Linked DNA regions of Homo sapiens: regions 1 and 2 are each linked to region 3. The links are contacts of gene promoters, found by promoter capture Hi-C in blood cells and fetal thymus (Javierre and others, 2016). All regions are on one chromosome and are shown on one strand. The core of a region is centred on a gene start or on the middle of the fragment in contact, and the rest is flanking DNA. Distances in the headings are between cores, read along the strand shown.

Region 1 (3,135 bases), core at 146-2,645, 6.3 Mb after region 3:
TCCAGAAACCAGCCTCACTCTTGGGATGCTGGCACAGATGCGTATGTCATTACCTTTGCCAGAAAGAGCCTTAAAGGAAACATTAGGAAAAAATATGCATTAGATCCCTAACAAGAATAGAAGCCACGTCTTTAGTAACATGTTACTTTAGATAAGTTTAGCACGCGATCCTTTCAAATTATTTTCATTATTGTAGAGAACAATAAAAAGGGTGTGGGTTCAAAAAAGAGTTTTCAGATGGGCCTTGGTGGAGAGGAACTGGCTGCTATTCAGCTAGGGAGTGTCACCTGAGTGAAATGTGTTCCCGCTATGCAGGCTTGCAGCCTCAAATCTGTGATTTTCCCATCCCCAATCTCCACATTTCAGGACCCTCAACACCAACCCCTATAAGTCTCCTAATCAGACACGCATAGTGCCCCCAATCACTGGCCTCCAATCTCCAACCCTCAGAGGTTTTCATAGTCACTGATATTCCCCTATGTTCAAATCTGACCAGGAGAGACTACAGGTCAGTAACTACAAAGAACACCGATCCGATCTGATTGCCAGTGAAATTACACAGCCCCCAATCATGAATCCACACTGATTGCCAATGATATCCCAACGACTGAGGATCAATTGTTGATTCTCACAGTCCCACTCCCACCCACAAGTGACAGTCCGAATCACTGAGCCTCATTGAGGCGTACCTTTAAGATAAGCACACTTGACTCTATTCTCCATTCCCTGATCTACAAAAGTCCAATCGTTAATACTCTCCGATCCTCCACCGATGATATGAAGTAAGTCTCAATCACCGATGGCCCAAAACATTTCTCCAAACATTCATCACCACTGACCTCCCTCATTTGAACCCCAAAGTTTCCACAATCACCAATTCCAGTACCCAAACTATTACTGCCCACAGAACTTAGAACCTCCGATCACTGATCCTCTCGGGCTCCGATCATTAACCTTAAAGATCTCTAAACCAGTGTCTGAAAAATCCCAACTGACCCCAGACCCATGAAGACCACTATTACTGACCCCATGCACCCTGAAAATCAAGACATTTCACAGAACTCGCATTTATTGATTCCCACACACTCCCAATCCATCTTCTTCAGAGACCGTGCCACTGACTCCCGCAAACCTCTGTCCGCCACCACTGAGGCCCCGCGAGGCTCAGACGCCGAATCTCTTAACCCTTCAGTTCCCTTGTCATTGACCCTCACGGGCACCCATAGCTGACCCAGTCGGCCACCGTAGTCGGCAGCTCACTATCCTCCACTAGTCCCAGGTTTGACCGTTTCTCAAACCGTGCCTTCCCATTTATGCTGCATCCGCGCCCTGAATCTGAAATTGGTCGTCCTGCCACGCCGCCTCACCGCGGTATAAGGTCGTCCCATCCTGAATGGCCGGTGCGCAGACTCAATTGCGACTTTGAGGCTGTCAGCCGCCACCCGGCAACCTTCCAGTGAACAGGATTCTGGGTTTCTCAAAGCTGTAATTGGAGGTATGATGGCGACGCCCACTTGACTCCTACCTGGGGCGGCCATGTTTAAAACTGTGCCGTAAAACGGATGATTAAGCCCTTTGCTAGACCAAAAGATAAGGCTATTTTAGGACAAGGAGAAGGAAGTGTCCCTGGATCCCTAAACAGAGATGTCGTCTCTGCTCTTAACTCAGCATCTCAGATGCCAAAACCTCCTGTGGCCAACATGGTGGCGCCCAGACATCAAAGCTGAGCTTTCTTTGTCTCCGGCAGCCTGGTAAGATGGCCGCGTACATTTTTACCGCTTCTTACGTGCAATGGGTGCAGCCTCTCCTAGGAGCTCCCCTATGGCAATGTGAAACTCTTTCTGAGCCAGCTCTAGGAGTTAGAGAGCAGCGAAGAGACTCGCTCTTAGGGAGACAGAGACAGCCTAAGGACGGGCGTGACTTCACGGAAAGGGCGGAGCCGCAAGGAAAGGGCGGGGCTGCCGCAGCGGGAAGAGATCAGAGTTCTTAGCGCATAATGGAAAGGAAATGTTGAAAGCAAGGTTTTTACCTAAGGAGGCTTGCCCGAGAAGCCGACCTGAGGAAAGAATGAGTGCAAGCAGTTTATTTGGTAGGTGGGGGATGGAGAAGTGAGACGGGAGCGATGGGAACGAATATACAGTGCATAGGTGAGCAGATTAGCTCTGGATCAATGAGGGCTCAGTCAGCTTGGGACCTCTGGGGGATTGTGTAGAAACCACTTCCAAGTTTTCACAACCACCAGGCCGATGAAGCTTACATATGTCTACACCATCTCTCTTCCTAATTGTTTTAGGGCCACTCCAGAGGTGTTAAAGCTCCAGCACTTCGAGCCTGCCTCGTGGGAAAGTCTTAGGCTGAGTCTGTAGGTGTCTGCAGTTAAGAAGCCAGCGGTCTGCATATGATTGCTCAGGGGTGGTGGCTGGGTCCAACAGCATTCACTACAGGCCTGCCTTGAATACCACCTAGCGCAGTGCTCCGCATATCACAGGTATTGGAACATCTCTAGAAAAGATTGCCTTGTCTTATGAAAATGGCTTTTTAAAAAAATCCTAATTCCAACTGGTCATCCTAGCAACTGATACAATAACTGACCTCAAAATGTTTCCCAATGATTCCTACCTCCTACTATTCACACTCTTATGTAGTTCCCTCCCACATTGTACCAGGGTTGGACTGTGAGACTAATAGAATGCAGTAGCAGTGATAGATGTCACTGCTGAGATTAAATATAATAAATGGCACCTTGAGTTCTGTCTTAAAGGCTGCTGCCCCCACTTTGAGAGAAGTTAGTTGCCATGTCATGAGGATACCGAGACAGCCTATGGAGAGGCCCAGGTAGCAAGGAACTAAGCCCTCCACCCAATAGCCTGGGAGTAGCTGGGGCCTTCCTATAACCAAGTGTATCACCCTTGGAAGCACATCTCCCAGCCCCAGTCAAACCTTGAGATGACAGCAGCCCCTGCCAATAGTTTGACTGCAACTGCGTGAGAGACACAGTCACAAGCACTCAGCTATAGCAGCTCCTATATTCCTCACCCTCAGAAAGTGTGTAAGATACTACATGTTTGTTGTTTTAAGCTTCTGAGTTTAGGGTAATTTGCTATGCATCAGTAGATAACTTCAATGCTGTGTTAA
Region 2 (2,985 bases), core at 36-2,535, 6.6 Mb after region 3:
TGCACTCAAGCCTGGGTGACAGAGTGAGACTCCGTCTCAAAAAAAACCAAAAAGATGTATTTTTTTCTTCTCATCCAAGTTCATGGACTCCCTGAATTCTACCTAAAGGAATCCAAAGTTAGGAACCCCTAGAGCAAGAATGATCCTTTGCAAACATGATAATATCACTCTGCTAAATCATTCAATGGATTTACACCTCATTCGGAGTAAAATTCAAGGTCCACAAGACCCAAAATCATCTACAGGTACATCCAACTCCCATCCTGACCTGCACCCAGCATGCAAACACTCATAAGCCTGCTACTTTCCTGATCTCCTCTTCTACAATTCCCGCTTTGCTCATTCAATTTCAGCCATAATGGTGGCTGCCAAAAAGCTCTGAACTCGAGTACTTGGCTCTTCCTGTTCCCTTTGCCTGAATCTCTCCTAGCAGATATTTACATTACCTGTTCCCTCACTTCCTTCAAGTCTTCACTAAAAGAACACCTCATCAGAGAGGCCCTCTCTAGCCTCTCTTCACAGCACTTATCTATCACCCACCACCTGACATTTCATATACACATGGACATATAATAATATAGAAATATTATTAATATATGATATATATTTATACTATACCAATATATTAGTTACATGTAGATAAATGTAAGTGATATATAATTCTAAAAATATTTATATATCATATAATATTAATGTCATGCTAATATTGTTTTATACATATATACTTGACATTCATGTTTATCTTCTGCTATGGTTTGAATGTCTCTCCTTCAAAATTCAGCTGTTGCCAATGTGATAGTATTAAGAGGTGGGGGCCAGACACAGTGGCTCAAGCCTTTAATCCTAGCACTTTGGGAGGCCAAGGTGGGTGGATCGCTTGAACCCAGGAGTTAGAGACCAGCCTGGGCAACATGGCGAAACCCTGTCTCTACAAAAAATAGAAAAATTAGCTGGGCGTGGTGACGTGTGCCTGTGGGCCGAGCTACTCGGGAGGCTGAGGTGGGAGGATCACCTGAGCCCGGGAGGTTGAGGCTGTGGTGAGCCATGATTGTGCCGCTGCACTCCAGCCTGGGTGACAGAGTGAGACCCTGTCTCAAAAAAAAAAAAAAAATTCCAAAAACGAAGAGGTGAGGCCTTTAAGAGATGATCGGGCTTCAAGGACCCATCCCTCAAGGATGGGTTTCGGTGCTCTTACGAAGGGGCTTGATGGAAGGAGTTGGCTCTCTTGCCCTACTGCCTTCTGCCACACGAAGATGCAAGAAGGCCCTCATCAGATGACAGTGCCTTGATCTTAGAATTCTTAGCCTCCAGATCTATGAGAAAATAAATGTCTGTTCTTTATAAATTACTCGATGTGAGGTATTCTGCTGTAACAGCACAAAATGGACTAAGACATTTTCTCTCTTACCCTCTAGAATGTAGGCTTCAGAAGTGCAGAACTTTAGAATGCCTTCATGAATACTACAGTCCCAGCCCTTGGACCAATGCTTGGTACATAGTAGTGCTCAATAAGTACTCTTCTGGTTCTCCTACTTCATCCCAAATCTCTCCTGCTCTGCCACCTCTTCCTTTTTAATATAGGCACAGATCCTTTTTTTTTCTTGGCCCCAACAATATCTCTATACATAGTGATTGCAGTCACTTCCAAGGCTCCACCTACTACTTCAATAGGGATTAATTCCACTTCTACATAGTTAGCCTTTGACTTTCTGCTAAACTCCTTATCTCATTTCTCTTTTATACTACTCTACTTTGTGGAAGTCATATATGTATATATTTTAGCACCACTTTTGGACCTTGAATTTGTAAAGGTAACACAATTAGTAAACTGTAGCACCTGGAAGATTCCCTTACACAAACCAGGAAATTAAAAAACGTTCCATAAAGGAAACATTGAAGACAGTCTGATAAAACAGGTCACTGACAGGCAGCTATAATGAAGACCAGTACTTGGGCAAGGGGTGTGTGTGTGTGTGTCTCTGTGTGTGTGTGTGTGTGTGTGTGTGTGTGTGTGTGTGTGTTCACATGTGTGTATACAGACGCAATTATATTATTTTGGGGAGTGGTAGTAGAAAACACCTGTACAAGTCTAAAAAATGCAGAAGAGGGGCCGGACGCGGTGGCTCATGCCTGTAATCCCAGCACTTTGGGAGGCTGAGGCGGGTAGATCATGAGGTCAGGAGTTCAAGAACAGCCTGGCCAATATGGTGAAACCCCACCTCTACTAAAAATACAAAAATTAGCTGGGCATGGTGGCATGCGCCTGTAGTCCCAGCTACTCAGGAGGCTGAGGCAGAAGAATCGCCTGAACCCGGGAGGCAGAGGTTGCAGTGAACCAAGATCGCACCCTGCACTCCAGCCTGAGCGACGGAGCGAGACTCCGTCTCAAAAAAAAAAAAAAATGCAGAAGAAGAAAAAGAATTAGCCAGGCATGGTGGCACAGGCCTACGGTCCCAGCCACTTGGAAGGCTGAGGCAGGGAGACTGCCTAAGCCCAGAAGTTTGAGCCTACAATAAGTTATGATCATGTCACTGCACTCTAGCCTGGGTGACAGAGCCAGACCCTTTAAAAAAAAAGAAAAAAAAAGAGAGAGAGTAAAAAAAGCTAGCAAGCAGCTGAATCTAAAATACGGGTAAAATAGGGTTTTTTTTAGAGAAGTAAAAGGTACCTTCTGCTTGAAATTAAGAGGAGGATTGGAGAGGAGTAGTAGAAATAGTGGTAAGTGAGGAAAAGGGCGAAACAGGTTATTTAACAACTATGCTAAAAGGACTTCATTTTCTCCACTGGCCTAGTTTCTTGATGGGAGCTTCAGGGATAACATCTCAAAGGTGCTGTTTCCTCCCTGACCAGCTGAGTTCTGACCTATCGTGACTTTCTCCTGTCCGGTCATTTCTCACTTACCTGAACACAGGCCTCTTGTAAGCTCTCTGCCAACCATCCAGGGCTCTTTCCCTTGTTCCAATAAGGAGATCACTTGAGGCTTAG
Region 3 (3,254 bases), core at 17-2,516:
CAAATAATCATAGTATAAAATAATGCTCTAATAGCAATCTACAAGAGGTGCCTTTCTATAACTCTTCAGTGCATCATAATGCACTGAAGTATTTGAACAATTTGCCATATGAACAGGTGGGTAAGAATTGTGGAGAAGAACAATAGGGGGCCACTGGGAGGAAATATGTACCAGCATGGCGGGTCATGTAACTGGGAAAACCCAGTCAAGATATTTCAGGCCAAGGAAAGAAAATGTTCTCATGACCTAGAAGCAAAGGTAATTGTATGTGTATGTATTTAAAAAGTATGTATAAAAAACCTCACCTGAACCTTGATTTCTAAACATGCAAAAATCCTTTTCTCCTCTTCAAACTCCTTCTTAGAAATCTGGCAACCTGGCAGCACTGGGGGAAAAAACAGTAACATGAGACATCAGCATTTCTAGCGCGTCACAGACTTAATTAAAAAAGAAAAAGAAGAGCAAAACACCCTCTGGGGCCACTTCTGCCTTCATCCACACAAAACCAAACGGAATGAAAAGGGAGGCTAGAGTCTGTCTCTGTGTTGAGGGCAATTCTTGGGGACAGAGGTCTGCTTGCAATGGCTCTGAAACATGTAGCTCACCACCAAAGAGCTCCTAGAGGCCCCTCTTCTAGGAATCCCACCTCTAGAACTTCCCCATCAGGTCTTGACAAGATCCTGTCCCGCGGACACTTCCAGATCTAAAATTCTCATCCTTCTTGCTTGAAACGTTCATTATGGGGCTTAGCATAGACTTCTTTCTTGCGGTCATTTAATTGTGGCAGGCCCGAAGACAGGCTAAAGGGAACCTAGAGCATTTGGTCAAAGCAAATCACATTTACAAATACGGCCACGCACCCTGTCAGCCCGTCACACATTCACAACTGCACCCACCTCCGTGGGGACACGCCCCGTCCCTGCCACGCCGTCTGAGACACACTGTCCCTCGGCTGCTCGCGTGCACACAGGCTTGAGGATCCGGACACGACACGCTCTGTCCGTGACCCAGCCCTCCCCACCTCCAGCACCCCCGATGCCACCCCCACCCTCACTGCCGGTTCCAGTCGGGCCCCAGTAAAGCCAGCCGAGCCCTCCCAGCTTCACCCGGGCTGATTACTTCTACAGACACGACCAACTCACCATGCAGAGTCCAAGAACCTTAAGGACACCGGAAAAGGACCCAGAGACCTGTGGTTAGTTTGGACCCAGAGGCTGATGGGAAACAAGAGCCTGGAAATGCTCGCAGGCTGGGAGAGGAGCTTCTGGCAGGCAAGCTCGCCCCGCCCCTAAAAGGCCTGTGCCCCGGAGACTTCTGGGAAATGTAGTCCACAGCGGCAGAGTCTCCGGAAGTTGAAACCTGGACAGCAGGGATGCTCCCAGCATGCAACTTGGCTTCACCTGTCAAAGGCGCTTTTTTCGAAGACGCCCGGGAGCTCTTGCTTTTGCTTGAGGGTCTTTGGTGTTGACTGAGAGCGAATTAAAAGGTTCTCAGCTTTCGCTAAGGAACGCATTCTGGAGTCTAGAACAGGCGAAGATGGGACTGGGGTGTCTGGGGACTTAGACGTGAGCGAGCAAGGGAATCCGGGGTAAGTTCGCTGGAAATGACCTGCGCGACACTACCAGTTTACCTGGGTATGAGCGCCTGGAACAGTGTCTGGCAATTGAACAGATGGGTGTGTCTTGCTGTGAGGGAGTTTCTTAGTTCGATTCGGTGTCTGGGACCCTGCGTGGACCTGTTTATGTTCATGGGATGTTTTCTAAATTTATGCCTGTGTGAGTCTGTTTTATTAGGTGTGAGATGAACTGTGTTACAGATTTTATATGCCGCTGTTGAAAGACAACAATAAGTGGTAGTGAGTGGATATTGTGACCGTGGAGACTTATGGCAGTGCAAAGGCGGCCATAAACAATGCACAAGCAATCCAGCATGGCTGTGTTCCAATAAAACTTGATGGATTATAAAATTTGAATCTCATTTTTTATAGAGTATGAAACCATTTATTCTGAAGCACACACTCATACTCCAAAAACAATACTATATATTCCCTCTCTCTCTCTCCTGTGTGTTTGCGTGTGTGTGTGTGTGGGTGTGTGAGAGAGAGAAAGGTTTTAAAGGAGACAACTAACTGATTCTGAGGTTAGGGCAAAAAGATTGGGGCTGTGGTTGGTGTGGTAAGAACCTTTGGATATAAATACTTTTTTAAAAAAGAATTGTCTAAAAATATTAAAGCGAAATTTTATATTAAAACTAACAGAAAGAAAAGGAAGTTACTTTTTAGGGGCTCTTTCTGGTCACTGATATCACCTCTCTCATCCTCTGCCATCTCTCACCTCCTGGTCTCTCTTGCTTATCAAGAGAAGACTAGAGCTCTTGGATCCCAGCTTTTCCCCTGCCTCAGCTGAGGCCACTACCCTGGTTGACTCCCATGGTGACATGGATGCCTCATCCAGTATCGTGGGTCTGAGTCCTCATCTGCAGGGTCCTTGAGCTTTCCTCGGCACCCATCCCCGTTTCCCATCTGGGACTTCATTATCATCAGCATCTGCTCCACCTCCAAAACCACTGGTGGAAGCAGCCTCCTCTCTTCCCATGTTACTTGCTCAATGACTCCCACAAGTACTACTCTGAATATTTTGGGGGTCTGATTTTTTTTTAATTTTTTATTTCCATAGGTTTTTGGGAAACAGGTGGTGTTTGGTTACATGAGTAACTTCTTCAGTGGTGATTTGTGAGATTTTGGTGCACCCATCACCTGAACAGTGTACATGGCACCCAATTTTTAGTCTTTTATCCCTCACCCCCTTTCCACCCTTTCCCCCAAGTCCCCAAAGTCCACTGTGTCATTCTTAGGCCTTTGCATCCTCACACCTTAGCTCCCACTTATGAGTGAGAATATACGATGTTTGATTTTCCATTCCTGAGTTGCTTCACTTAGAATAATAGTCTCCAGGCCGGGCATGGTGGTTCACACCTGTAATCCCAGCACTTTGGGAGGCTGAGGCAGCTGGATCACCTGAAGTCAAGAATTCAAGACCAGCCTGGCCAACATGATGAAACCCTGTCTCTACTAAAAATACGAAAATTAGCCGGGCACGCTGGTGGGTGTCTATAATCCTAGCCATTCAGGAGGCTGAGGCAGGAGAATTGCCTGAACCTGGGAGGTGGAGGTTGCAGTAAGCCAAGATAGCGCCATTGCACTACAGCCTGGGCAACAAGAGGGAAACTCCATCTTAAAAAAAAAAGGAAAAATA

What was found. The method cuts DNA at HindIII sites, captures the fragments that hold promoters and counts their contacts. A CHiCAGO score of 5 or more calls a contact.
Region 1: a contact is called between the fragment with the promoter of ZNF793 here and the fragment with the promoter of ZNF283 in region 3, in 1 of 17 cell types (non-activated CD4 T cells). The highest score is 5.7, in non-activated CD4 T cells.
Region 2: a contact is called between a fragment that was not itself captured here and the fragment with the promoter of ZNF283 in region 3, in 8 of 17 cell types (non-activated CD4 T cells, total CD4 T cells, naive CD8 T cells and 5 more). The highest score is 24.1, in non-activated CD4 T cells.

Annotation. Positions count from the first base shown.
Region 1 is chr19:37,505,199-37,508,333 of GRCh38, reverse strand. ZNF793 (zinc finger protein 793) reads right to left here and starts at 1,395. Exons shown (of 8, transcript NM_001013659.3): 1 at 1,368-1,395; 2 at 1-69. It overlaps ZNF793-AS1 (ZNF793 antisense RNA 1), which reads left to right and starts at 1,247. Exons shown (of 3, transcript NR_110723.1): 1 at 1,247-1,495; 2 at 2,294-2,488. RefSeq lists enhancers at 1,179-1,328, 894-1,685, 1,686-2,477. The HindIII fragment of the contact is 7,284 bases long and covers 1-2,254 here.
Region 2 is chr19:37,235,991-37,238,975 of GRCh38, reverse strand. ZNF383 (zinc finger protein 383) reads right to left here. Exons shown (of 6, transcript NM_001387601.1): 5 at 2,902-2,985. Among named protein-coding and RNA genes, the nearest start is that of LINC01535, 14 kb to the left of the region's middle. The HindIII fragment of the contact is 3,665 bases long and covers 1-2,985 here.
Region 3 is chr19:43,825,333-43,828,586 of GRCh38, reverse strand. It overlaps ZNF283 (zinc finger protein 283), which reads right to left and starts at 1,266. Exons shown (of 7, transcript NM_181845.2): 1 at 1,143-1,266; 2 at 306-385. RefSeq lists an enhancer at 1,209-1,408. The HindIII fragment of the contact is 6,325 bases long and covers 1-3,254 here.